Linked DNA regions of Homo sapiens: regions 1, 2, 3, 4, 5 and 7 are each linked to region 6. The links are contacts of gene promoters, found by promoter capture Hi-C in blood cells and fetal thymus (Javierre and others, 2016). All regions are on one chromosome and are shown on one strand. Each heading gives the region's core, a stretch centred on a gene start or on the middle of the fragment in contact. The rest is flanking DNA. Distances are from core to core; before and after follow the strand shown. Region 1 has its middle 16 kb from the start of CNEP1R1. Region 2 overlaps HEATR3 (HEAT repeat containing 3). Region 3 has its middle 5.1 kb from the start of ZNF423. Region 4 has its middle 20 kb from the start of TENT4B. Region 5 overlaps TENT4B (terminal nucleotidyltransferase 4B). Region 6 holds the start of CYLD (CYLD lysine 63 deubiquitinase). Region 7 overlaps HEATR3 (HEAT repeat containing 3).

Evidence for each region. Contacts are between HindIII fragments. The CHiCAGO score rates a contact against its expected background, and 5 or more counts as called.
Region 1: a fragment that was not itself captured here is called in contact with the fragment with the promoter of CYLD in region 6 in 2 of 17 cell types (neutrophils and total CD8 T cells); the score reaches 9.1 in neutrophils.
Region 2: a fragment that was not itself captured here is called in contact with the fragment with the promoter of CYLD in region 6 in 10 of 17 cell types (monocytes, naive CD8 T cells, naive CD4 T cells and 7 more); the score reaches 9.6 in monocytes.
Region 3: a contact is called between a fragment that was not itself captured here and the fragment with the promoter of CYLD in region 6, in 1 of 17 cell types (monocytes). The highest score is 5.4, in monocytes.
Region 4: a fragment that was not itself captured here is called in contact with the fragment with the promoter of CYLD in region 6 in 1 of 17 cell types (neutrophils); the score reaches 5.9 in neutrophils.
Region 5: a fragment that was not itself captured here is called in contact with the fragment with the promoter of CYLD in region 6 in 10 of 17 cell types (total CD4 T cells, naive CD8 T cells, naive CD4 T cells and 7 more); the score reaches 8.0 in total CD4 T cells.
Region 7: a fragment that was not itself captured here is called in contact with the fragment with the promoter of CYLD in region 6 in 4 of 17 cell types (monocytes, M0 macrophages, naive B cells and 1 more); the score reaches 6.6 in monocytes.

The regions. Positions count from the first base shown.
Region 1 is chr16:50,039,551-50,043,148 of GRCh38, forward strand. No RefSeq gene overlaps it. Among named protein-coding and RNA genes, the nearest start is that of CNEP1R1, 16 kb to the left of the region's middle. RefSeq lists a silencer at 494-694. The HindIII fragment of the contact is 9,784 bases long and covers 1-3,598 here.
Region 2 is chr16:50,083,317-50,087,096 of GRCh38, forward strand. HEATR3 (HEAT repeat containing 3) reads left to right here. Exons shown (of 15, transcript NM_182922.4): 8 at 621-711; 9 at 818-975; 10 at 1,253-1,335; 11 at 2,899-3,035. Among named protein-coding and RNA genes, the nearest start is that of HEATR3-AS1, 19 kb to the left of the region's middle. The HindIII fragment of the contact is 2,772 bases long and covers 47-2,818 here.
Region 3 is chr16:49,859,377-49,862,990 of GRCh38, forward strand. No RefSeq gene overlaps it. Among named protein-coding and RNA genes, the nearest start is that of ZNF423, 5.1 kb to the left of the region's middle. The HindIII fragment of the contact is 2,471 bases long and covers 78-2,548 here.
Region 4 is chr16:50,130,958-50,135,054 of GRCh38, forward strand. No RefSeq gene overlaps it. Among named protein-coding and RNA genes, the nearest start is that of TENT4B, 20 kb to the right of the region's middle. The HindIII fragment of the contact is 5,770 bases long and covers 1-4,097 here.
Region 5 is chr16:50,177,871-50,181,962 of GRCh38, forward strand. The region is part of intron 1 of TENT4B (terminal nucleotidyltransferase 4B); the gene reads left to right. Among named protein-coding and RNA genes, the nearest start is that of TENT4B, 27 kb to the left of the region's middle. The HindIII fragment of the contact is 5,075 bases long and covers 1-4,092 here.
Region 6 is chr16:50,739,730-50,743,830 of GRCh38, forward strand. It overlaps CYLD (CYLD lysine 63 deubiquitinase), which reads left to right and starts at 2,357. Exons shown (of 19, transcript NM_001378743.1): 1 at 2,357-2,395; 2 at 3,033-3,112. CYLD-AS1 (CYLD antisense RNA 1) reads right to left here and starts at 3,018. Exons shown (of 7, transcript NR_184279.1): 1 at 2,942-3,018; 2 at 1,599-1,675; 3 at 951-1,065. It overlaps MIR3181 (microRNA 3181), which reads left to right and starts at 2,576; the gene lies at 2,576-2,648. RefSeq lists a silencer at 2,172-2,771 and an enhancer at 3,012-3,111. The HindIII fragment of the contact is 2,791 bases long and covers 1,887-4,101 here.
Region 7 is chr16:50,105,072-50,108,791 of GRCh38, forward strand. HEATR3 (HEAT repeat containing 3) reads left to right here. Exons shown (of 15, transcript NM_182922.4): 15 at 1-2,201. Among named protein-coding and RNA genes, the nearest start is that of HEATR3-AS1, 41 kb to the left of the region's middle. The HindIII fragment of the contact is 2,053 bases long and covers 1,075-3,127 here.

The DNA.
Region 1 (3,598 bases), core at 971-3,470, 700 kb before region 6:
TAGAGGGCAAATGATAGGTCAGCCTTGGCAAGTGGGGAATTTTTTTAATATTAAAAAAATAATCTGGGTGTGGTGGCTCATGCCTGTAATCCTGGCACTCTGGGAGGCCGAGGCAGGTGGATCACCTGAGGTCAGGAGTTCGAGACCAGCCTGACCAACATGGTGAAACCCCGTCTCTACTAAAATACAAAAATTAGCCAGGCATGGTGGCTAACACCTGTAATCCCAGCTACTCAGGAGGCTGAAGCAAGAGAATCGCTTGAACTTGGGAGGAAGAGGTTGCAGTGAGCCAAGATCGCGCCATTGGACTCTAGCCTGGGCAACAAGAGCAAAACTCTGTCTCAAAAAAAAGGAAAAAAAAAAAACTTTTAATGTCAAATGAATAGGACTTCGCAGAGGACAAAAGAAGAAGCAATTGAGCATAAAGCCTACCACCAGCACCACTTCTTCCATCATATTTAGCCTGTTACAGAAATAAAAGTTCCATGATCACCAATATTTGGGAACTACTACATCCTCCTCCTGGAGATTGTTCATGCTGTAAAGCATATTAAAAGCTCCATGTTGGCTGGGCACGATGGCTAATGCCTGTAATCCCAGCTGCTTGGGAAGCCAAGGCAGGCAGATCGCTTGAGCTCCGGAGGCCGGGGCTGCAGTGAGCTATGATTGTACCACTGCATTCCATCCTGAGCGACAGCGTGACACTCTGCCTCAAACGAATGAATGAATGCATGCATGAATGTCCCGAGTGGCCCTGCAGTAGAGAAACCTGTTAAACTGCCTGCTTTTCTGCCATTTCACCAAAGACTTGTTCACATTATTTGGGGGACAGAGAGTGTTTGTTGTGGTTTCTGTCTGTCCAGTTGCTCTTTTTTAATTGGAGAAGAGGCATGCAAATGTATTGAACATCCCACAGAGAGAATCACAGAGTGGTTGCCTTGCCCAGCTCCCTCTGAGCACCCGTGCTAGATTTGGGGAATGCTGGCTATGTCAGTCCATCCTCTCTCAGGACAACCCAGAAAACTTTGGACTCCTGCATTTGGGACCCAGGCATGCGAGGAGGTGGTAAAGCTGTGTTTCCGTGGCAGGGCACTCAGTGGGACTCAGTGGTGGTGGCATCAGTTTCCTCATCCGACCAGTTCCGTAAGATGGGTTTGGGCATTTTTTTTCTTCTGGAACTTTAGCCTTGAACCAGTCTCTCTAGACCACTCCAAAATCCTGAAGTACCCAATATCCTTTAAATAATTGGCTTTCAGTTTACTCAAAGTCAGCTTCTCTTGCTTGCTTGACTGCTAGAGTGGTACACAGCAGTTGTGTTCCAGGAGCATGCTGTGGAGAGTTGATCTAACAGATGAGAGTGCTTCCAATCAAGCCTCATGCCATCTGGCAGGTAAGAGAGCTCAGGGCCACGTGCAGTGGAAGGACCCAGACTTGGCAGATCAATGTGGATTACAGTCCCATTTCCTCCATTAGCCAGTGGGGCAAGTGACTTATTCTCTCTGAACCTTAATTTCATTTAGGCCTATTAGATAGCTATCTTGCAGAATAGCTAGAAGGATGAAATGAAATAATGTATGTAAAAGATAGCTTTCCAGCTTTTTTTTTAAAATCACAAACTAATTTTTGAGTCGCTATTCTGAGTACTTGTTATAGGTGTATCTTGAGTACCCAAGAGTGCTGGCATCTATGGAAGATGCTCAATTGCTGTTGAACAAATGGATGAATCTTGACTTTGGTATTGAAACTGAGTTTTTATATAAATACGTAAATACACTAAAACATAAATTTTATTTATTTATTTATTTTCAGTTGGGGTCTTGCTCTGTCACCCAGGCTGCCGTGCAGTGGCACAATCATGGCTCACTGCAGCCTCCAACTCCTGGGATCAAGCAATCCTCACACCTCAGCCTCCCAAAGTGCTGGGATTACAGGCTCTCACCATTCCTAGCTAACTTTTTAATTTTTTGTAGCGACAGGGTCTCACTTTGTTGCCTAAGCTGGTCTTGAACTCCTGAGCTCAAGTGATCGTCCCACTTTGGCCTCAGATTTGTAATTTAAGTAACGGTAGAGAAACTAAAATAACTAAGTCTATTGTAAGTTCATTAAGTAAATTAAAAAAGAAATATATCCTTGCTAGAAGATGAGTTTTAAATTCTGTCTCCTACAATTATCAGATTTATTTTTTTTCCTGACCTACCCTGAAAACCATTTAAAAACAAATTGTTCTGGAATGTTTTAAACACATGCAAACATAGAGAGAGTGGTATAATGAACTCCCATCACCCAACTTGAGCAATTATCAACATATAGCCAATCTTGTTTCTTATACAGGTTCAGAATCCTTTATCCAAAATGCTTAGGACAAGAAGTGTTTCAGATTTCACATTTTGGAATATTTGCTTTATGTTTACAGGTTGAGCATTCCAACTCCAAAACTCTCTAATCTGAGTGCTGCAAAACAAGCATTTCCTTTAAGTGTCCGGTTAGCACTCAAAACATTTTGGGCCAGGCATGGTGGCTCATGGCTGTAATCCCAGCACTTTGGGAGGCCGAGGCAAGCGGATCACCTGAAGTCAGGAGTTCAAGACCAGCCTGGCCAACATGGCAAAACCCCGTCTCTACTAAAAATACAAAAATTAGCCAGGCGTGGTGGCAGGTGCCTGTAATCCCAGCTACTTGGGAGGCTGAGGAAGGAGAATCACTTGAACCTGGGAGGCAGAGGTTGCAGTGAGCTGAGATTGTGCCACTGCACTCCAGCCTGGGCGACAGAGTGGACTCTGTCTCAAAACAAAAACGTTTTGAATTTTGGAGCTTTTCAGATTTTCGATTTTCAGTTTTGAGATGCTCAGCCTACCCTATTTCAACTTGCTCCCTCACCCCCACAAAGGATTATTTTGAAGCAAATCACAGACATCACTTGATATAGAAATCTTCCAGTAACTATCTCCAAAAGTTAAGAAAAATTTTACATATAACTACAATACTATATCATACCTGAAACGCTAATAATTTTGTAGCAATTTTATACCAAATATTCTGCTTAAACTCCTCCAACTGTCCCATAAATGTATCCTTTAGAGTTGGGTTATTTGAATTGAGATCCAGAAAAGGATACTTGAATAGTAGCAATTGCACAACCTAGGACCTAGGTTTCTGAAATCCCTGTTTCTGAATTCTATCTGATTACATATGTGAACTCAATTTATGCATATGGAATACACTTTCAATAAATGACATACAGTTAGTGGATGGATGGGTACAGACATTTTTTTTAAAAAAAGGAGAGAGATAACAAAATGACGTACAGTGACTTCTGCTGAGATCTTCCACAATAAACCAGCAGCATTATCATGGTGAACATCACTACCATCTCTTCACGTGCTAACAGCCACATGGGAAATGGGACTCCAGCATGCAAGGCACAACGCATCCTTAGAGAGCACCCAGTCCCGATGACAGCATGGGGTTAGGAAGGAGACCATGAGGAAGAAAGTGGAATGGGTATGTTTAAATGTATGCAGCGATAGACAAAGATGTTGGACATTAGGGGAAAAATAATGACAAATTGATGGAAAACCAGGATAAGAAAAAAAAGGCG
Region 2 (3,780 bases), core at 183-2,682, 660 kb before region 6:
TAATGTTAAGTTTAAGTTGGCGTTATATATTTTCAGAGAAAAAAAAAGCTTCCTTCTTTCTTTAGTCTTAGAGAAATGCTTTATTATAGTCTTTACAGAAAGGCAGGAAGCAAGTCTGTCTGCTCCATAGCAAGTTCTACAGGTCACATAAGGGCTCGTTAGTAGTGTGTGTTAGCGCAGCCATTCCAAGAAAGACATCTAAGCTAAGCATCTAAAAGCAGGTTTGGTGTTTCTAAGTGCCTGGTGTCTGAAATGAACTCTTGTTTAAATCTTAGTATGCCCAGCTACTTCTTGACACAGTAGATAAGTTTCAGGGTGAATTCTGTTCAGAATTCCTGAATATTTGTCTGTTCTCTCCAGCTAACTAAGTGACGCTTGGGGAATAGCCATGCAGATAGATGGAAACCCAGTTAACGGGGGCATGCTCCACTGTACCAAGAGGAATTATAATGCTCGTTTGTACTTCTGGCACTTCATGACTTTTCTTTTACCTACCCCATTCCCCGTGTGCTCTATTCCAAGCGCAAAAATCTTCTAGTAGGCTTTCACTAAGGAAATTCCCCAAAAACATTTTCCCAACCATTGAGAGTTGGTCATTTACTTTTTTTTTTTTTTTTAAGCCCACTGACAAGGAACTGAGAGAGACTATAGCATTGCTGACAGCCCAACAGACTGCTCTGGAAATTATTGTCAACATGTGCTGCAATGAAGGTTTGTTAACATTTACATTTAGACATTTTCCCCCTGAGCCAAGAGGGAAACTCCCGTGGAGATTTTCTTAACTATTCCAGTTCTGCGTGGTTTGCCCGCTTCCCAGATCCCTCTGATGACGAATGGGAAGAGCTTTCTAGCAGTGATGAAAGTGACGCATTTATGGAGAATTCCTTCAGTGAGTGCGGGGGACAGCTGTTTTCTCCCCTCTGCCTCTCCCATGAAGTTCACACGGCTCTCACCAACTACCTCATCCCAAAGAAGGTAATCCATTTTCATTCTAGGCTTACCGTGGAGCATGGGAAAGGCTTAAGCAAGGTATTCATTTTGTGTACAAAAGAAGCAAGCTCACACTTCCAGGTTGTAGATGGTGGTAAGATCTGAGACAAAGCTGAGCCTAACAGTACTGGAAATAGGCGAAAAGGTCATTCTATATGAAGCCTAACCATTTCACTTAGGAGTAATATGTTGGAATTATGTAAGGGAATCGTGTTAAATGACTACTCTTTAACCTTTGCTTTACTGCCTCTTTTAAATCTAGATTTTTGAGAAAACTGCCTTTCCAAACAGCATTGCAGTTGACCTATGTTCTAGGAACCCTACTTGGAAACCTTTGATTAGAAAGTAAGAACTCTTCTGCTTTCAAAAACATTTGTCATTATTTTATTTTATGAAATGATGGGCTATTAAATAGAAGGTGCTGACTCCCCCTAGGACCCAGAAGTTTTGTTCCTGGGTATATATACCAGAAAAATATGTGCCCACATGCCCTAGAATACATGTATATGAGAGTGTTCATAGCAGTGTGTGTCACAGTTGCCCCAACCCATAAACAAACGTGTTGTCCATCAGAGTTAGAATGGTAAATAAATTTTGACAAAATCACGCAGTACAATACATGCAGCAGTAAAAGGGATCTGAATTAGAGCTACTCACAACTCGGATGGAACTTACATTGTTGAACCAAAAAAGCGAGACATAAAAGAATACACACACTGTGATTCAGTTTTTACAAAGTTGAGAAACAGGCAACATTGAACTATTTTGTTCAGGGATGCATACCTTGGTGATAAACCTATTAAAAAAAAAAAGAGGCAAGGAAATGTTTACCATAGAAGTCTGTATGGTGCTTACCTGTAGGTGTCAGGGAGGTGGGATATTATATGGAAGAGATACAGGGGCTTTCAGGGTCCAGCAGTGTTAATTTCTTTCCCAGGTGCATGGGTTTTGGTTTCATAGACTGTTTGTTAAACTCTCTATGTATGTTGTGTACTTAACTGTATATATGTCACATTTCACAATTAAAAATAATTTTAGGCTGGGCATGGTGGCTCACACCTATAATCCCAGGACTCTGGGAGGCCAAGGTAGGAGGATCACTTGAGGCCAGGAGTTTGAAACCAGCCTGGGCAGCATAGCAAGACCCCATCTCTACAAAGGAAAAAAAAATACAAAAATTAGCCTGGCATAGTGGCACTCAGCTGTAGTCCTAGCTACTTAGGAGGCTGAAGTGGGAGGATTGCTTGAGCTCAGCAGTCTAAGGCTGTAGTGAGCTATGATGGTGACACTGTACTCCAGCCTGGGAAACAGAATGAGACCCTGTCTGAAGAAAATTATAATTTTAAGGATGCTACCCTACATAGAAATTTTTCTAAAACATATTCCTCATGACTCATGAATGAGTTGTGTATCAGAGGCCGTGAATATTCAAGCAGTTTGATTTGGCAGATTAACAGTTCACCTTATAATTCTAGCACTTTGGAAGGTACAGGCAGGAGGATTGTTTGAGGCCAAGAGTTCCAGAGCAGCCTGGGCAACATAGCAAGACCCCTATCTACAAAAAATAAAAAACTTAGCCAGGTGTGGTTGCATGCACATGTAATCCTGCTCCTTAGGAGGCTGAGGCAGGAGGATCACTTGTGCTCAGGAGGTTGAGGCTACAGCGAGCTGTGATCACACCACTGCACTCCAGCCTGGGCAACAGAGTAAGACCCTGTCTAAAAAATGATGATAAATTTTAGAAAACACAAAAAACAGTTCACCTTGTGATTCTTTGCTAACTGCCATAGATACCTTGTATTTACAGATATTTCCAGTCAGAACGTGAAGCTTAGGCTAAAAGTTAATACTGAATTCTGATGGGCAACTTCTGGAGAATCAGATGGCATTGTTTCACTTCCTTTCCAGAATGAACACTATTCAGTGCAGAGCCCTCTTCTGTCTCCAGAGTCTTGTGTCCCTCCTGGATGTGGAGCACCTGGGAGGAGCCGCAGCCCTTCAGACGCTTGCACAGCATCTGTCACAGCTGCTTTTTTCTCAACCAGGTATTTAGACTTTATTGCGAAAGACTACGCAGACGGAACAGAATTTTGAAGGGGCAGGAATTTGGATTTTGTAAATGTATATTGTTTGTCATCCAATGTGCAGAAACCTTTCCCAGACACAGGAATCATGTATTTATAGTTGCCATGGGGTACAGAGTCAAAACGAGGTATGCAAGCAGCTCCTGGGCTTATAATTTTCTTTTTTGTTAAAATTGTTTGCATCCAGTTATATCAGGCCAGTCAAGGCTGTATCATAAATATCATAAAGGCCTCATTAAGGTATTTGGATAATTCTCAGCCAAGCACGGTGGCTCATGCCTGTAGTCCCAGCACTTTGGGAGGCCGAGGCGGGAGGATCACCTCAGGTCAGGAGTTGGAGACCAGCCTGGCCAACATGATGAAACCGCTCTACTAAAATACAAAACTTTAACTGGGCGTGGTGGTGGAGATGCCTGTAATCCCAGCTACTCGGGAGGCTGAGGCAGGAGAATCGCTTGAACCCAGGAGGTGGGGATTGCAGTGATCTGAGGTTGTGCCATTGCACTCCAGCCTGGGCAACAAGAGCAAAACTCCATCTCAAAATAATAATAATAATAATTGAGTACTATTCTATTATTTTCTTCCCAGTTACAAGCATTTAAGTTTGATTAATATATGTATGTAGTACAGAATTCAAAAGTTATTAGAGGACAGAAACTGGAAAGCCTCCCTCCTTTCTCCGACACCCAGTTCCTCTCCCAGAGTC
Region 3 (3,614 bases), core at 63-2,562, 880 kb before region 6:
TCTCCCAGCTCAGCGGCAGTCAGGGTGCAGAGGGAGCCCGACCTTGTCCCCGCCTCGGCCCGTCCCGCTTCTTCTGAAGCTTGTTTCATTTTTAACTCCTTCCAGAAAAATGTTGTTTTAAGGAAAATCTCAAAGGAACAAAAAGCCAATAGTGCCTTCCTTATTTGCAATCCCCACCCACCTCTGAGCTCGGACTGCAAGGGCCTCAAGGGACACCAGGTGACACCTGGGCCTTGCTTCTCACGGGTGACCTTGGACCAGAAAGGGTCATTTTCAGGTGTGTTTTATACCCCCCACCTGCCTACTTCTGGCAGGGAATAGGGGGTCCAGTCCCCTCCCCTATGAGAAGGGGCCCCTCTGGGCTCTCCTTCTTCGCCGGAAAGTGAACAGCTGCTCCTGCCCTGCTTGGAGGAGTGGCTGTGGAAACCCACTGTAAGCTGTAAGGAGCAGGAGCCACCATCATAAATGCAAGAGAAATTCCAAGTTGAGGTTTTTGAGAACAAGTAAGACTTTGCCCACAAAAAGGTGCATCTTCCTTCAAAGTCATAACTTGGCTGGAAGAGGGGAAACCTCTTGCCCAAGGCGGTGCCTTCCCCAACCATGCTCCTTAAGAATGTTTTTCCTACATGTGCAGCAACTGAGGCTTCTTCCTTGAATTTTCAAGAGGCAGGCGTCATTTTGAGCAGTCTGGTGAATGCACGAGGGTCTGGTGGGCTACAAAAACAAGATAGGACAATAAAGAAAACAAGGCAGTGTTCACTTTGTGGCCTCAGACCTATGATCCCTGCAGAGCTCCCAGAGTTGCTCAAGGGATGCTTTCCAGTAAGTGACCAAATGCCCACCTTGGCCAGGTGCCGTGGCTCACACCTGTAATCCCAGCGCTTTGGGAAGATGAAACGGATGGATCACCTGCTAGGGAGGCCCTGGCTTATGCCTGTCATCCCAGCACTTTGGGAGGCTGAGATGGGTGGATCATCTGAGGTCATGAGTTCGAGACCAGCCCCAGCAACATGTTGAAACCCTGTCTCTACTAAAAATACAAAAATTATCTGGGCATGGTGGCACGTGCCTTGGTGGCATATACCTGTAGTCCCAGCTACTCGAGAGACTGAGGCATGACAATCACTTGAACCTGGGAGGCCGAGGTTGCAGTGAGCTGAGATCATGCCACTGCACTCCAGCCTGGGTGACAAAGTAAGACTCCATCTCAAAAAAAAAAAAAAAGAAAAGAAAAAGAAAAAACAAATGCCCACCTTTTCCCCTTCCAGGCACACACACATCACTTACTTTAAATGACAACAGTCACTTGAATATATACGATCTGGAATGAGTGGTTTTTGTTTACTGCTTTATTACTTGAAACTCCCAGTCCCTACTGTGGAGAATTTGCATCAGCCTATGAGGAGCAGTCATTTTGGGGAGGGATGATTTATCCCTTCAGCTTTTCCCCAGAGAATAAGTTCACTGCTTTGTTCCTGTGTTTATTCAACATTTATTTATGATTTTGCACTTACTGTGTGCCAAGACTGAGGGTAAAACAATGAATGAGAAAGATCGCAGTTCCTCCCTGTTGGGGCTTGCCCTCTAGTTGTAGGGGGTAAGGGGGGTGGCTGACTTAATAAATGGCCACGCAAGGCCAGTCGCGGTGGCACACATCTGTAATCTCAGCACTTTGGGAGGCTGAGATGGGTGGATCACTTGAGGTCTGGAGTTCGAGACCAGCCTGGCCAACATGGTGAAAGTCTCTACTAAAAATACAAAAATTAGCTGGGCGTGGTGGTGGGTGTCTGTAATCCCAGCTACTCAGGAGACTGAGGCATGAGAATTGCTTGAGCCCAGGAGGCAGAGGTTGCAGTGAGCCAGGATCACGCCACTGCACTCCAGCCTGGGCAACAGAGTGAGACTCTGTCTCAAATAAATAAATAAATAGCCACAAAAATAATTATTTACTTATAGTTTTGATCAATCCTGAGAAGAAATTAAAATATAGTACAAAGAGGCCACAAAACAGAGTCTCAAAGGTGGTCTGCTGAGAGCCCTATGGAGGAGGAGGAAGGAGCCAAGCGGGGGGATGGAGAATAGAGTTCCCAGCTGTGAACAGTGTGTGCAAAGGGCCTGGGGCACAAAGGAGCTGGAGGCTTCTCAGCGAGAGTTGTCACAGCTCAGGCAAAGGCCACCATGGCCAGGCTTAGGAGCCAATTCCATCCATTTTCCAGTCCAGCTTCCCTCACCACCTAGCTGAAGAACCCGGAGCAAGGGAGCCCGTGTTCCAGTTTTGCATCTGCAAAATGAGAAAACGGATAGCACGGATCTCATAGGGTGGTCCTGAGGGTTTCTCATCTGTCCATGCTGCCTGTCTGGCCACAAGACAGCAGTCATCTGGCCTTCGCTGTCCTCCCTTACCTTTTCTCTCTCACCTTCACCACCTCCGAGGTCAATCATGTTCATAGAGATGCCAGTTACACAACTGCAGATCCCCTCCTTGCACCAATAAGTTCCTCTTTCTCCCTGGTATTTCCTTGATTCAGACTTGCCCTTGCTTTCTAGAAGCTTTCTATCTTCTTTATGTCTATTGAGAAGGTTTTGTGCATTTGCGTTTTATTATTTTATTTATTTGTTTATTTATTTTTTGAGACAGAGTCTTGTTGTATCGCCCAGGCTGGAGTGCAGTGGCACGATCTCGGCTCACTGCAACCTCCGCCTCCCAGATTCAAACAATTTACCTGCTTCAGTCTCCCAACTAGCTGAGATTACAGGCATGCGCCACCATGCCCAGCTAATTCTTTTGTATTTTTAGTAGAAATGAGGTTTCATCATATTGGCCAGGCTAGTTGTGTTTTATTTTAATGATGCATCTATCTGTAGAATCCAAGTTTCCCTGAACACTCCTGTTCTCAGGGTACTGAGGAAGCAATGACCATGCTCTCTGGTCAAGCCTTCCAGGAGATGGCCTAGCAGCATGATTGTTAACCAGCAGCTGCCACAAGCCCAGGTCTTCCTCACCTCTTCATCATTATTTGCAGGGTTCTTCTCACAAGACTTGGTCTTGAAGCTCCTGAGGGTTCAGAAGAGAGGAAGGCAAGATCGAAAAGAGAGTCCTTTCCTCTGCTTTTAGTTCTCAGCCTGGTGTTTTGAGGAGGGAAATCCCTGCAGATGCTCCTGAAATTCCCCAGAGGTCCCCATTGTCCCCCCCTCCCCATGACCACAACTCAAAGAGGCCAGCAGTGGACCCAGACATCTGCCTCTCTGGGGCTCTCTGGGGCTGTAGTAGCCTGGTGCCAAAAACAATAAGCCGGGTGTGGGAACCTCCTTGTCTTCTCTGGTTTCTGTTCAGCTGGGAAAGCCATTTCTATTTTATCATCATTATTATAATCATTTAATTCTTCAAACATCGGCAGTCTTTGCAGGGAACACCCACAAGGCAGCAAGGAAACCAACTTGGCGGGAGGATCCCCATGGACTCATACCCTCAGAAAGCTTGAAACTCCAGGCTCTGGCCCTGAGAGCATCTACCTCAACCACCTGTAGCTGCCCAGGTGTGCAGCACGCTCGAGCCTGGGGTCACTTGGCTCAGAGTCACTTGCTGCTTTGTTCTCTTAAAATACTTATTTTAT
Region 4 (4,097 bases), core at 798-3,297, 610 kb before region 6:
AGGATTACAGGTGTGAGCCACCATGCTCAGCTGTTGTTGTTTTCTGAGATAAGGTCTCACTCTGCTGCCCATGCTGGAGTGCAGTGGCATGATCATAGCTCACTGCAACCTCTACCTCCTGGGCTCAAGAGATCCTCCCTCTACAGCCTCCCAAGTAGCTAGGACTACAGGCAAGTGTTACCACGCCTGGCTATTTTTTTTTTTAATTTTTGTAGAGACAGGGTCTCCCTATGTTGCCCAGGCTGGTCTTGATCTTCTGGGCTCAAGTGGTCCTCCCACCTCAGCCTCTCAAAGTGCTGGGATTACAGACATGAACAACCACACGCAGCCAGATATAAAATTAACAATACTTAAATCCTATGATACAAAGTCAATACATCTTATGTTACATGATAAAATGAGAGGAAAGAAAACAAAGATATTTGCTACACAAACGTGTTCATAATAAAATAAGGAGGAGGCCGGGAGTGGTGGCTCACACCTGTAATCCCAGCACTTTGGGAGGCTGAGGTGGGCAGATCACGAGGTCAGGAGATTGAGACCATCCTGGGTACGGGTGAAAACCCGTCTCTACTAAAAATATTAAAAAAAATATTAGCCGGGCGTGGTGATGGGCACCTGTAGTCCCAGCTACTCAGGAGGCTGAGGCAGGAGAATGGCATTAACCCAGGAAGTGGAGCTTGCAGTGAGCCGAGATCACGCCACTGCACTCCAGCCTGGGTGACAGAGGGAGACTCCATCTCAAAAAATAAATAAATAAATAAATAAATAAATAAATAATAAAAAAAATAAATAAATAAAATAAGGAGGAAATATAACAATTACAGTCCTCATTTCTGTAACCAGTCATGTGGTCATGGCTGTGTATTTATTTATAACTATCTTCCTCCACTACCCCATTCTGTATTCCTTTTGCCTTCAGCAAACACCTCAGGTGGTCATGGTTCTTTATTTGGTGTTGTGATCCAAACCTTCATTCCTGAAGGACCTGGGCCATATATAGTCCTGTCTGGATTGGATTGTTGTATATTTTTCCGTTCCACTTAATCAGAGGGCGTGGTCATACTGAGAGATGCTCTGCAGGATCTCATGAATTGCAGACATACTCTTTCTTACCTCCATTGTGGAGTAGTAGTCCAAGTTTCCCTTGGTAGTCAGAATCAATTTATCTAGCCACTAGAGGATTCCCTTCTTTTTTTGTTGATTCAGGGTATTAAGGAGCCCAAAGTGGCTGGGCAGTAGCCTTAACTTCCAGCTCAATGCAATTATTGTTGTGTCTCCAGATGGAAGCATTCCTTCTTCTGGAACTAAGAGCTCTAGACCAGCAGAGCATAAAGTTGTGAGAACAGGAACCAAAAATTTTGCTACTGGGTCACTAGAAGTAATAGTGGTTCAGCTGGGCACAGTGGCTCATGCCTGTAATCCCAGTGCTTTGGGAGGCTAAGGCAGGAGGATTGCTTGAGGCCAGGAGTTTGAGACCAGCCCAAACAGCATAGGGAGACACTGTTTCTAATATATATATATATATATACATTTTTTTTCTTTGTTTGTTAAACAAGCTGGGCATGGTGGCAAGCACTTGTAGTCCTAGCTACTTGAGAGGCTGAGGTGGGAGGATTGCTTGAGCCCATGAGTTTGAGGCTATAGGGAGCTATGGCCATGCCACTGCTCTCCAGCCTGAGCAACAGAGCAAGACTCTGTCTAAAAAAAAAAAAAAAAAAAAAATTGGTGAAGGGTGCCACTCCCATTTCCACCCTTGATTCCTGACTGTGATTTCCTGCTGTAAGAGAAACAGCACCATGGCCAGGCGCGGTGGCTCACACCTGTAATCCCAGGACTTTGGTAGTCCGAGCCGGGTGGATCACCTGAGGTCAGGAGTTCAAGATCAGCCTGACCAACATGGCAAAACCTCATCTCTACTAAAAAATACAAAAATTAGCCGGTGTGGTGGCAGGTGCCTGTAATTCCAGCTACTCAGGAGACTGAGTCATGAGAATCGCTTGAACCCGGGAGGCAGATGTTGCAGTGAGCCGAGATCACACCATTGCACTCCAGCCTGGGCGACAAGAGGGAAACTCTGTCTCCAAAAAAAAAAAAAAAAAAAGAAAGAAAGAAAAAAGAAAAACAAAACAAACAGCACTGTTTTTGGACGCTGATTCAGAGCATATACAGCCTTCTGGTGAACCTTGCCCTAGCCCTCCTAGCTGGTACTGTAACTAAGTCTTCAAAAGACCCTTTCACTGTTTCATCAAACCAGCTACTTCAGAATGGTGGGAAAAGACCAGTGAATTCCATGAGCTTGAACCCATTGCTGCATTCCTTTTGCTGTGTGTTCGTTGATGAGAAGCAATGTTGTGTGGAATACCAATACCATTACAATGGATAAGACATTCTATAAGCCCACAAACGGTAGTTTTGGTAGAAGCATTGTGTGCAGGGAAGGCAAATTAATATGCTGAGTAAGAGTTTATTACAAGCCCACACAGTGGTGTGCACCTGTAGTTCTAGCTACTTGGGAGGCTGAGGCAAAGTGGGAAGATTTCTTGAGAACAGGAGTTCAAAGCTGTAGTGTGCTATAATCATGCCTGCAAATAGCCACTGCACTCCAGCCTGGGCAACACAGCAAGATCCCATCTCTAAAAATAAAAAATAATAATTAAAAAAAATTTTTAAAGAATCTATTACAGTAAGAACAAAACACTGTCCCTTCCATGATAGAAGCAGTCCAGTGTAATCAACCTGCCACTGGGGAGCTGGCTGATTTACCCCCCGGGGAATATCAGGGACTCAGTCTTGGTCTCTGCTGCTGATGGATTGGGCACTCACCAGTGGCCATAGCCAGGTCAGCTTTGATAAGTGGTAGTCCATATTCCCAAGCCCATGATTAACCTCCATCCCTGACCATGGCCACTCTGCTCATGAGCCCACTGGCTGATGAGGGGGTGGCTGGAGAAAGAGGCTGATGGCTATCCACAGAATAGGTCATCCTATCCACTTGATTTTTAAAGTCCTGCTCTACTGAGGTCACCCTTTAGTGAGCATTCACATGGGAGACAAATATCTTATGATTTTTGCTCATTCTGCGAGGTCTATTCACATACCTCTTCTCCAAATTTCCTTGTTACCAGTTTTCCAATCATATTCCTTCCAAGTTCCTGAACATCCAGCCAAACCATGGTCCACAGCCCATGGGATTGGTATATAATTGCGTGTCTGACCATTTCTTCTTCCAAGCAAAGCATGCTGCCTGAAGTTTTGCCACTGGGAAGATTTCCCTTCACTGCTGTCCTTAAGGGATGTCTCAGAGAGAAGCTGTAGTGCTGTCCACTTTCAGATGGCACACACGTATTGTGCAGAACCACCTGGAAACCAGGCCTGTCCTATCTTCCTCTGTCAGCTGATTATAGGGACCTCCCTAAGAGGCCATAGGTACAGAACGGGAGACAGAAGGCAGTGTAGCGGGGCGGGGGACCGTTGGTATTTGTGCCAGTCCTTCATTAACTTACTTGTGCCTTCAGGGCCTGCTTGAACTCAATCATGTATATACCACTTCCATTTGATGGTGGAGTGCTCCTGTGCACATCCAAATTTATGGCATTGGAGATCAGATAGCCCCCAGTTTGTGATGGGTAGCTCAAGTCGCATTGTAACTTGGTGGCCATGGTTGAGCATTCAGTCTTTTTTTTTCCCGAGATGGAGTCTTGCTCTGTCACCTAGGCTGGAGTGTAATGGCGCAATCCTGGCTCACTGCAACCTCTGCCTCCAGGGTTCAAGTGATTCTCCTGCCTCAGTCTCCCAAGTAGCTGGGATTACAGGCACATGCCACCATGCCCGGCTAATTTTTGTATTTTTAGTACAGGTGGGCTTTCACCATGTTGGCCAGGCTGACCTCGTGATTCACCCACCTCAGCCTCCCAAAGTGCTGAGATTACAGGTGTGAGCCACCACGTCTGGTCAAGCATTCAGTCTTTACCAAGGCTCAGGAGCAGGCCAAGAGCTGTCTCAAAAGGAAAGTAAGCTGAAGGATGGCAGGGCTCTGCTGCAAAATTCTAAGGATCTGAGCTATAATCCACCTACAGGAACCTGCTAAAGACTCC
Region 5 (4,092 bases), core at 1,062-3,561, 560 kb before region 6:
ATTTCCTGTAAGCACTGCTTTCTCTATATCTTACAAATTTTGATGTCATATTTTCATTTTCATTTAGTTAGAAATATCTCTTGAGACTTCTTTGACCCATCTGTTATTTAGAAGTGTATTGTTTAATCTCCAAGTATGTATTTTGGGATTTTTCTGGCTATCTTTCTGCTGTTGATTTCTAGTTTAATTACATGTGGTCTGAGAGCATACCTTGTATGCTTTCTATTCTTTTCAATTTGTTAAGGTGCTCTTTGTGGCTCAAGGTGGTCTACTTTTTTTTTTTTTTTTTTTTTAAAGAAAAGCTGGCCAGGTGCAGTGGCTTATGCCTGTACTCCAGCACTTTGGGAGGCGTAAGTGGGAGGATCACTTGAGGTCAGGAGTTTGAGACCAGCCTGGGCAACATATAGAGACTTCACTTGCACAACAAATTTTTAAAATATTAGTTGGGTATGGTGGCATATACCTGTATATGGCTGAAGTGGGAGGATTGCTTGAGCCCTGGAGGTTGAGGCTACATGAGCCATGATCGCACCACTGTACTCCAGCCTGGGCAACAGAGTGAAATTTTGTTCTCTCTTGAAAAGAAAAAAAAAGTTGATGACATAAAGTTCATTCATCTTTTTTGTATGTGACTTCAAAATAACTACTGATGGTTAAAAAAAAAATCAGAATGATGCAACCCAAGTGTCCATCAATGGATGAATAGATAATATGTGGTGTATGAATACAATGGGCTACTATTATTCAGCCTTTAAAAATAAGAAAATGCTGACACTGCTGTAACATGGATGAACGTTCAGATCATTATGCTAAATGAGAAAAGCCAGACACAAAAGGACAAATATTGCATGATTGCACTTATATGAGGTATCTGGAATATAAGAGTCATAGAAACAGTAATTCAGTAATTAGAATAATGCTTGCCAGGGCCTGTGGGGAGGAGGGAATGAGGAATTCATGTTTAATGGGTACAGAGTTTCATTTGGAAAAGATTAAAAAGTTATGGAGGTGGATGGTGGTGAGGATTGCACAACAGTGTGAATGTACTTAATACCACTGAACTGTACACCTAAAAATGATTAAAATGGTACATTTTATGTTACATATGTTTTACAACAATTTTTACAGATGGAAAAAAATTATAAAAAACATCAGGATGGTGTTGACAGTGAAAAGGTTAAAGAGTTACTTTAAAAATTTACTTTATTCCAGCCGGGTGCGGTGGCTCACACCTGTAATCCCAGCACTTTGGGAGACCGAGGCGGGTGGATCACCTGAGGTCAGGAGTTTGAGACCAGCCTGACCAACATGGAGAAACCCCGTCTCTACTAAAAATACAAAATTAGCCAGGTGTGGTGGCGCATGCCTGTAATCCCAGCTACTTGGGAGGCTGAGGCAGGAGAATCGCTTGAACCCGGGTGGTGGAGGTTGCAGTGAGCCGAGATCTTGCCATTGCACTCCAGCCTGGGCAACAAAGCGCAACTCCGTCTCAAAAGAAAATTTTTTTTTTTTACTTTATCCCAAATGTTTATATTTACTTTGGGGCTTATGTGACCAGTTTAATTTTCATTTGTAATTGACTTGATAGAACACACTAATGTTCAGTTAAGATTTCTTATGGTGTGGTGAGGAGTAGGATTTTTATGTAAATAAGCCCAAAATTGTATATATGAGGTTAATCTGATATTTGCAGAAGATATTCATGCATTACTGTAAGGACCACTCTGCTTATTCATTTGACCGATTTGTTACAACATGGTTAGAAATCATCAAGGTGTTTGAGATCAAAGGATCTTCAGAGGTGATTTACTCCAATCCTTTTTTAAAAAATTAATAACTTGAGCCTCAGAGAAGTTAAGTGACATTACCAAGTTCTGCTGTTAGTATAGTGACTTTATCTTTACCTGAATCCAGGGTTTCTTAGCCCTAGTCTGTAATGTGTCCTAGTGTGCCTCTAGAATCTGGTCCTGTCAGCCCAAGTCTGTTAAATCAAATAAAACCAGGGCTTGGTGCTTCACCTTGTCTTCTGCCATACCGTTGGGTTTCCTGTGGACCATGCAGATAATGATGATGGGCTCAGTGGGCTTGATAGTGATAACTCCTAAAGCAGCTCCTTCTAAGTGCGGTTCTCAATCTGAGGAAGTTAAAAAAAAAATTAGTGACTAGAACCCACTTCTCAGGTACTCTGATAAAATACATTTGTAGGGGAGTGATAGTTTTCACTTTCTTTTTTTCTTTTTCTTTTTTTTTTGAGATGGCGTCTCGCTCTTTTGCCCAGGCTGGAGTGCAATGGTGCGATCTCAGCTTACTGCAACCTCTGCCTCCCAGTTTCAAGTGATTCTTCTGCCTTAGCTTCCTGAGTAGCTGAGATTACAGGTGTGTGCCACCATGCCTGGCTAATTTTTGTATTTTTATTAGAGACGGGATTTCACCATGGTTGGTCAGGTTGGTCTCGAACTCCTAACCTTGTGATCTGCCTGCCTCAGCCTCCCAGAGTGCTGGGATTACAGGCATGAGCCACTGTGCCCAGCCTTCACATATTTTTTGAAATAATAGGCCAGTTGCGGTGGTTCATGCCTGTAATCTCACACTTTGGGAGGCCGAGGTGGGCAGATCACTTGAGGCCAGGAGTTCAAGGCCACCCTGGCCAACATGGCGAAACCCTGTTTCTACTAAAAATACAAAAAAATTAGCCGGGTATGATGGCATGTGCCTGTGGTCCCAGCTACTCTGGAAGTTGAGGCATGAGAATCGCTTTAACTTAGGAGGTGGAGGTTGCAGTGAGGCAAGATCGTGCCCCTGCACTCCAGCCTGGGTGACAGAGCGAGACTCCATCTCAAAAAAAAAAAAAAAAATCGTATGCAGTAAAGGTTGAAAACTGCTGCCCAAAGGCGCTATTAAACTATAGGTTCCCAAACCTGGCCAATTGTCAAAATCCCTCAAGAAGGGGCAGTGGGGTCTAAGGGACCCCATTGCTGTAGAGGAGATTAGTAGTCCAAGAGTGAGATGAACTGTTGGAAGTCCTCAAACTTCCAAACTATTAAAATAGAATAGTTTTGCTTCCTTAAAATAGAATAGTTTTCTTCCTCACTGATTTTTCTGTATTGATTAGAACCATAACAAGTGAATTAAACAACTACAAAATAGTTATGTGGGCCACAGACATTATTGTAATGAAGTGAAGTTTGGCTCAGGCCTTGTAACACAATTGCTTTTTGGATTAAAAGTAAAAATATTAAATTGTGAAATTATGTGTAAGTTTTAAAAAATTGGTCTTGTACAAAAGTGTTGGGTTTTTCTTTGTTTTTAACTGGATTTGTTTTTAAGCAAGACAGAATATTTATATTGTTGGAGAGTCACAAAGGAGGTGTGTTTGTGGATTTAAATGTGGAGACAGTGTGCCTTGAAATGCCCTTTATCAGTCTGATTCAAGCCACCTGCAATCATGGATTTGAACTTTTTTTTTTTTTTCCCCTGAGATAGGGTTGCCTAGGCTGGGGTGCAGTGGTGTGATCTTGGCTCACTGCAACCTCTGGCTCAGCCTCTTGGAGTACCTGGGACTATAGGCACACAACATCATATCCAGCTATTGTATTTTTTTTTTTTTTTTTTTTTATAGAGACAGAGTTTCACCATGTTGTCCAGGCTGGTCTTGAACTCCTGAGCTCAAGCAACTCACCTGCCTCGGCCTTCCAGAGTGCTGAGATTATAGGTGTGAGCCACCATGCCCAGCCTTCACTTTATTTAAAAACCATAGTTTTTAAAAGCCACATTCCTACTGATGAACACAGAGGTTGTTTCCAGTGTTTTCATTTGCAGGGCTGTAGTGATTGTTTTTGCACATGCCTCTTTATGTACATGTGCTGTGTCTTCTGGGACAGAGAGTGGACATTTTAAGTGTTTTATTGGTCCTGCTAAATTGTCTTTCAGCCAAACTGCTGCAGAGGTGATGGAGATGAGGTGGGTACTCAGGAGAATTATGCTCAGTGCTTGTGTGCTAGTCACTGACCTGGAAACATTTTATTAAAAATGCTAGATTAGGTTAGTGATGTAAATACCAGGTGATAGTAACCAGAATAATTGTGTCAAAAC
Region 6 (4,101 bases), core at 1,107-3,606:
GGCCTTCATCTACTACCTGTAAAATGAGAGGCTGGTTCACCAAGGACTGCAAATAATAGCACCATGACACTATCTCCCCATCTTATCCCCTGGCAGATATCTCTCTTCCCGGTGAGCCTGAATATAAGTTCAGAATTAGCTTTAACGCAATGTTCTAAGCAGCCATTCCCAATTGATAGGAAATGATAATTGAGATAAGCCCCATTTGTCAGGCTTGACTTGGATGAAGATCCCTTAGATGAAGTCAGGCCCCGGCACTGATTCAGTGAACGTATGACAGGACAGAGCCTGGGGACGAAAGCCCTATGGAAGTAGAGACCTCAGCAGCACCAAACACCATCAACAGAAAGGACACAAAAATAGGCCGGGCACATTGGCTCATGCCTGTAATCCCAGCACTTTGGGAGGCTGACGCAGGCAGATCACTTGAGGTCAGGAGTTTGAGACCAGCCTGGTCAATATGGTGAAACCTTGTCTCTACTAAAAATACAAAAATTAGCTGGGTGTGGTGGCAGGCACCTGTAATCCCAGCTACTTGGGAGGCTGAGGCAGGAGAATTGCTTGAACCTGGGAGGCGGAGGTTGCAGTGAGCTGAGATCGCACCATTGCACTCCAGCCTAGGCAACAGAGCAAGACTCTGTCTCAAAACAAAGAAACAAACAAACAAACACCCCAGCAACAACAACAACAAAAACAAAAAGAAGGGACATGAAAATATTCTAGTCCAGAGTGGCAAACTCAGATGCCTTAAGGGACCAGTGGATGTAGATCGTGCAGATAAGAGAAGTGGTCCCAGTGGTAACATGAGAATGTTTGCCTTGCCTAAAAGGACCCCAAATCTCTCTCCTTCACATTCTTTTCTCCTTCCTCCTTATCGTATGGGTTAGGCAAAAACAAATTTCAGCTGAAATTTTCTTCCAGACAGTTGGACTGTGACCTCTGAGTCCTACCAGCTTTGTTGGAGAATCCAGATGTAGATGAGAACGGTGTTGCCTAAGGCCACACTTCAAGCCAGGCCCGTTGATTTCCAACTTATGGCTTCCTACAGCAGTGTGGTCATGAAGCCTGGAAAACAGGAAGATAGGAGTGACAAAAGAGGGACAGGAGTAGAATGAGGCTTAGGTTTTCAAAAGATGCTCATTTCATTTTGGATGACTATGGCAAGGAAGAGTGGTGGCCTGTCTACTGCTACTGTTAGTCATCACTCATGTGACTGTTTTTATGTATTCATTGGTTTAAATTCCCTGGATCTCCAGAAACATGTCACTTTCCACTGGGGGAAATTTGTGTCATGATTAAAAACACACACACACACACACACACACACACACACACCCCTCCTCCTTTCTCAGTGTTAATCACCTTCTCCTATAATTAGCACTTAAAATGTCAAAGGAGAAGAAATTAATTAACAGGAGTATCCAGTGCAGCAAGGCTCTAGGACTGATTATAAAAAGCACTTCCTTAAATATTTTGAGTGCTTTTGGGAATCAGAAGCCTCCCTTCTAATTGAAAGATCCTTAACTACACCCTAAGTCCTGGCTGGTGGCCAGGGGTGCGGGGCTGAGTGAGGCGGCGTGTGGAAATCCCTTCTTCACCATCCTTGGGAAAATTCCCTCCAAACTGGGATAGGTGGCAACAGAGGTTCGGAAACAGCAAGCGTCCCAGGCTGAATCTGCGGAGGAGGAAGAGATGAACCTTTCCTGAGCTGGTACTGCGTGCCAGGAACTTTAGCTCGGTATTTTGCCACAATCCTGTAAGACAACCGATACTATGATCTCCATTTTACAGATGAGGACATTGAGGCTCAGCGTGGTTGTGACTTCCTCAGGTCACGCAGCCACTGAATGAAAGCGCCAAAGATTCAAACTGAGGTCTGATTCTAAAGCTTTGCTCTCTCACGGCATCCTGGAATCCTATTTCAACCTTCATCTGGACTCTTAACCCAGCCCAAACCTAAGCGTCTACAGTTTTGACAGCTGAGGCGGGAGCACGGGAGGCGGAGCTGGTGGCAGCGCAGCGCCCCGCCCCGGCTCCAGCATCAGCCAATGGTGACGCGGCACCCACAGCCTTTCGCCCAATCAGCTTGAGCTTCCCGCCTCCATCCGCCGCTCTTCTCTGCCCCGCCCCTTCGCTTTCCCTTTGGTTCCACCGAGCTTGACAGAGCGGAAAGTCCCTTCGGCCGGCGCCGGGCTGGCAGCCATTGGAGGAAGGTCTGTCACAGGGAGGCCCAATCACGGCCCGCTCAGGAGCGCAGCTCGGCCTACGATTGGCTAGCGCGGCGGCTGCCCCCTCCGCCCCCGCTCCCTCCCTCTTCCCTGTGCGGTTCGGAGGCGGGGCAGGTGGGGGCGGGCCCAGGTAGCAGGTTTGGCTGCGCGGGGGCCGCGCGTCGGAGGTAAATACTAGGGCGGTGGGTGTGGGGAGCCGGGGCCGGCCCGGGACGCGGGCTGGGGAGCCGGGGCGAGGGGCGACGCCCCGCCGCCCGAGGTTAGTGAATGAGCGGGCGGCTGGCGGCCGGCGGGCGGCCGGATCCCCTCGGCGCAGCCGCCTGGCCTCAGGGCGTCCGGAGCCGCCGCGGCGACCATCGGGCCCTCGGCGCCGGCCCGTTAGTTGCCCGGGCCCGAGCCGGCCGGGCCCGCGGGTTGCCGAGCCCGCTGACGTCAGCCCGGGTTTCCCCCCCCCACCGGGGCTTCCCCATCCCCCGAGGCTTCCCGGGAGGGCTGCGAGTCCGGGGAGCGTGCGGGGTCGCCACCATCGGGACCCCCAGAGGAGAGAGGACTTGGGGCGGGAGCCGCGCGGGACGCTGTCCCCCTCCCGCCCCCCACCCCATTTACAGATTGGGAGACTGAGGCACAGGCCGCTGGCGGGCCCCGACGGCCACGGTTGGCCTCAGGAGCCCGGGGCTGTGATTCCTACCGACCGCGCCGCGGGGCGTACGTACCGATCGATTTTGCGGGTGTTGGTGGCTCCCGTCCAGGAATGGCAGTCGGGGTTCTGGCCTTGTTAATGGCGTGTTCTGCTTTTTCTTTCAGTTTCCCCCTTTCTAGGGTGAGGATGGTTCTACACAGCCACCCGGAGTTCCTTAGTTGAAAGGTGCGCCCTGCTGTGACAGGTATTCTTTCTTTATGTTTTTCTTTCATGTTAACAATCGAGGGGGGTGGGGGGCGAATGGGGGGCGGGGGCGAAGTCATGAAATCTTCAGGAGATGGTGTTGAGTTTGGTACTCAGCTGGGTCAGCTGCCGGTTATTCATGTACTTGGCATCGTTTCTCTTCCACCCCTTGGCATTTGAATGTTTTAGGATAGTTGTCATCTTCCAGCCACCAAGCCTGTGGCCTTGCAGTCTCCCAGCCCCCATCATCCCTGCCACCTTCTTCTCCTCAATTTTTCCTGGAAAGTTTTATCCTTAGCTCAGCTAAGGAGCATGCCTACCTTGCTTTTGAATTCGGGCTAATTAGGGATCTTAATAAGATTGTTCATTTTGCAATCATTGGCTCTCAGAGAAGCACCCAGGCCTTGAGAGGGTGTTCGTTTGATTGTTGGCTTTCTACACACCCCCTCACGCCCCAAGTAGACTGAATGGCCTTAAGAATTTAGCCTCCCATTCCCCACTGAGCAGTAGGTGGATTTGAACTAGAACAGTATTAGGAGAAAATGATTTGCTGGAAATTCTTATTGAAGTAACACCCAGAACATTCTCTAATATTCTGCTGCAAAATTGTATAGTATTCTTGCAAATAAACCTTCCTCTGGGTGGTAACTTTTGTGAGAAGCAGATAAGGCTTGTTATATAAAGCACAACTAACATTAAGCAGCAATGATTTTTATAGTCTGGCACACCTAAACTGTGGTTTTGTTTGATTTAAGGAAGTCTCCAACACAGGGAGAGAGAAAGGAATAGTTATGTTGTTTATCAAACTATTAGTATTTTGTTCCTGATTTTCACACTATGATTTAAATTAGTTTTTTTTTCATTGGTTGTACAGAATTTATAAGCATCATACATGCTAGTTGAGGCTGTAGGAAGCTAGTATCAAATAAACCTCAAAACAACTTGGTTTCGTAATTGTGAAATTTTCCGTATTTGTTTCTTCTTATATGT
Region 7 (3,720 bases), core at 851-3,350, 630 kb before region 6:
AAAGAAACCAGTTCTTCCCCCAAAGTATTCAATGCTTAGAATACTAAAAGGTTTTCTTTGAATGTATATGTTTCTGAAAGTCATTTTTTAATGATTACATTCTGTACATTCTGTAAAAACTTCAAAACCTGGCCAGGCATGGTGGCTCACGCCTATAATCCCAGCACCTTGGGAGACCGAGGCGGGTGGATCACTTGAGGTCAGGAGTTTGAGGCCAGCCTGGCCAACATGGTGAAACCGCATGCATAAGCATGGTGGCACATGCCTGTGATCCCAGCTACTCGGGAGGCTGAGGGAGGAGAGTCGGTTGAACCTGGGAGACAGAGGTTGCAGTGAGCTGAGATCACGCTACTGCACTCCAGCCTGGGTGACAGAGGGAGACCCTGTCTCCAAAAAAAAAAAAAAAAAAAAACTTCAAAACCTGTCAGAAACTCTGTTGCTGGTTTTTTTGTGTGTGTGTTTTGTTTGTTTGTTTTGTTTTGTTGTTTTTTTCTTTTTTGAGATGGAGTCTCACTGCTGCCCAGGCTGTATTACAGTGCTGCGATCTTGGCTTACTGCAACCTCTGCCATTCCAGGTTCAAGCGATTCTCATGCCTCAGCCTCCTGAGTAGCTGGAATTACAGGCACCCACCACCACACCTTGTTTTTGTTTTTGGTTTTTTGGTTTGTTTTTTTTTTTCAGTAGAGACGGGTTTCACCGTGTTGGCCAGGCTGGTCTCAAATTCCTGACCTCAAGTGATCCGCCTGCCCTGGCCTCCCAAAGTGCTGGGATTACAGGCATGAGCCACCGTGCCTGGCCAGAAACTCTTTTTTAAGTGATGAGATCTGTGTGGCATTTCTAGCGCTCTCTAAATTATGTCTCTGGCATATTTTAATCACTGGAAACTCAAAGAGTGGAAGAGTGGAAGTGCGAAGGAATCTCAGGTAGCTCTTAACTAATTCGCCAGCAGTGAAGAAACTTCAACCAATCATGTTTTCCTTGAATTTTGCAAAGAAAGAAAATCCAAAGCATTGCTTGGATGTTCTTTTAAGGCATTTTATATCAGTTGAACCTTAAACTGAAATATGAAGACAAGCTTTATAAACTAGTTTTTTGATATGAAGTATATCAATTATGTTTGCCTTTTGTGAAGAAGTAAATGAGTTGAATTTCTATTTCACTTACTAGATTATACTAATGAGCTAATGGGGTCATTGCCATCCTCCCTACTCATGACTTTGATGAGTTATTGCTGTAACATCACTTCTTGATTTAATTTGATATGGAATCAGAATTGGGAGAAGGTATTTTTAAATAAACAACTTTTTAATGGAAAGTTTTGTGTCTTACAAAATCTTTTTTAAGATACCAAATAAAGGGTTATTAGTAGAAAATGAGATGATACTATTCGTGGATATTTGTTTGCTAATGCATATTGCTTGGAATATATGTGAGACATTAAAAAAATGACAGCACGACTTTGCAGCATTACCTCTCAGTGTCTTCGAAGTACTAGGTGACAGCTGGGGCTCGAGGGAGTTTCCCTGTGCATCATTGTCTCGGCTGGGCCTCTGAACCGGCTTCATTGTCCATCCGTTTGCCTGATGAGAAGGGAAATTTGAAAATTTCTGTACAGTTGATCTCAGTTGCCCTGACAAAAGGCCCAATCCCCAGTACAGGACTTAATTTTAATTCACTGCTTCCACAGCAGCACAAAATGAGCTAGTAGTGTTAGATTTCATCTGCACTGTGATGTATTTTACAGTTTTCACCTATATGATATAGACTGTTGGGAAACCAAGATTGTTTCCCAGCCCTAAGAGTTCCTAGCCCATGGCACCAAGTAAAATAACCCAAATTGTGTATATGGTGGGAAAACAGAAATGTATACCATATACAACACCTCGCTTTATTATGGTCCTTGCTCATGAATTTTAAGGTATATATGTATGTTTAGTGATCATTTCAGCTAAATGATTGGCCCAAGCATGTCTCCTTGGAGAACGACTCTTCCAAAAAAGAAAGTATTAGAGTTCTCTCTGCCTCAATTATTTATAAAATATAATTATTTTCAAGGAGAAAAAAGTTCCTCATTCTGTTTATTCTTCCCCACAGTTTCTGACCTATAAACAATATCCAGGATATTTAGCACAGGACCTAGTATATAGTCGACTCTTCATAAATATTTGTTGAGTAAATAAATGCTGGTGATTTTCTCGTTGTTTTGTGTGTGATTTTCTGTTTTACTAAGCAAGCTCTAAAGCAGCTGTTGAATGCAGAATCATCCTTAAACACGGTAGAAGATGAGATGACACTGAAGATGTGCCATCCTAAAAATCTCTTAGATTCTGAGGCATGGATAATTGGGTCTGGATTTCTCCCATTCAACTTTACCACTCTAACGACACAAAAGAAGGGAAAACAACTCATAAATACAGCATACAGTTTTAACTATTTACATAATAACTCAATAGAGCATGCAAGTATTATTCATGGCACAGGATAATGGAGAGCTTTTTCTGTATGACCATAGGGGAAAAAAAGTCTGCTTTAAAATATACTTATTTGAAAATCACCCAGAATAGCCCGTTAGAAATACACACTGGAGGCCAAGCATTTTGGGAGGTCGAGGTGGGCAGATCACTTAAGGTGAGGAATTTGAGACCAGCCTGGCCAACATAGTGAAATCCCATCTCTACAAAAATACAAAAACTAGCTGGGTGTGGTAGCATGCACCTGCAATCCCAGCTACTTGGGAGGCTGAGGCAGGAGAAACTCAAACCTGGGAGGTGGAGGTTGCAGTGAGCCAAGATTCCACCACTGCACTCCAGCCTGGGCAACAGAGCAAGACTCCACCTCAAAAAAAAAATAATTAGCCGGGTGTGATGGCCCATACCTGTAATCCCAGCTACTCAGGAGGCTGAGGCATGAGAATCACTTGGATCCAGGAGGTGAAGGTTGCAATAAGCCAAGATTGCACCAGTGCACTTTAGCCTGGGCAACAGAGTGAGCTCTGTTAAAAAAAAGAAAGAAATATACACTGTTCAGGCATAGTGGCTCACACCTGTAATCCCAGCACTTCGGGAGTCCAAGACGGGTGAATCACTTGAGCTCTGGAGTTTGAGACCAGCCTGGGCAACATAGGGAAGCTTTGTCTCTGCTAAACATAAAAAAAATTAGCTGAGCTTGGTGGCGCACACCTGTAGTTTCAGCTACTTGGGAGGCTAAGGCAGGAGGATGGCTTGAGCCTAGGAGATGGAGGCTGTAGTGAATCATGATTCCATCCTAAGCAACAGTGCAAAACCTTTCTTAAAAAAAAAAAAAAAGGTTGGGGGCTGGGCGCAGTAGCTCACACTTGTAATCCCAGCACTTTAGAAGGCCAAGATGGGCAGATCACTAGAGCCCAGGAGTTCGAGACCAGCCTGGCCAACATGGCAAAACCCTGTCTCTACTAAAAATACAAAAATTAGCCGGATGTGGTGGCATGCCCCTGTAGTCCCAGCTACTGGGAAGCTGAGGCAGGACAATCGCTTGAACATGGGAGGCGGAAGTTGCAGTGAACTCAGATCACGCCACTGCACTCCAGTCTGGGCGGTAAGACTCTGTCTCAAAAAAAAAGGGGAGCTGGCCGGGCGTGAAGGCTCACACCTGTAATCCCAGGACTTTGGGAGGGCGAGGTGGGTGGATCATGAGGTCAGGAGATCAAGACCATCCTGACTAACACAGTGAAACCCTGTCTC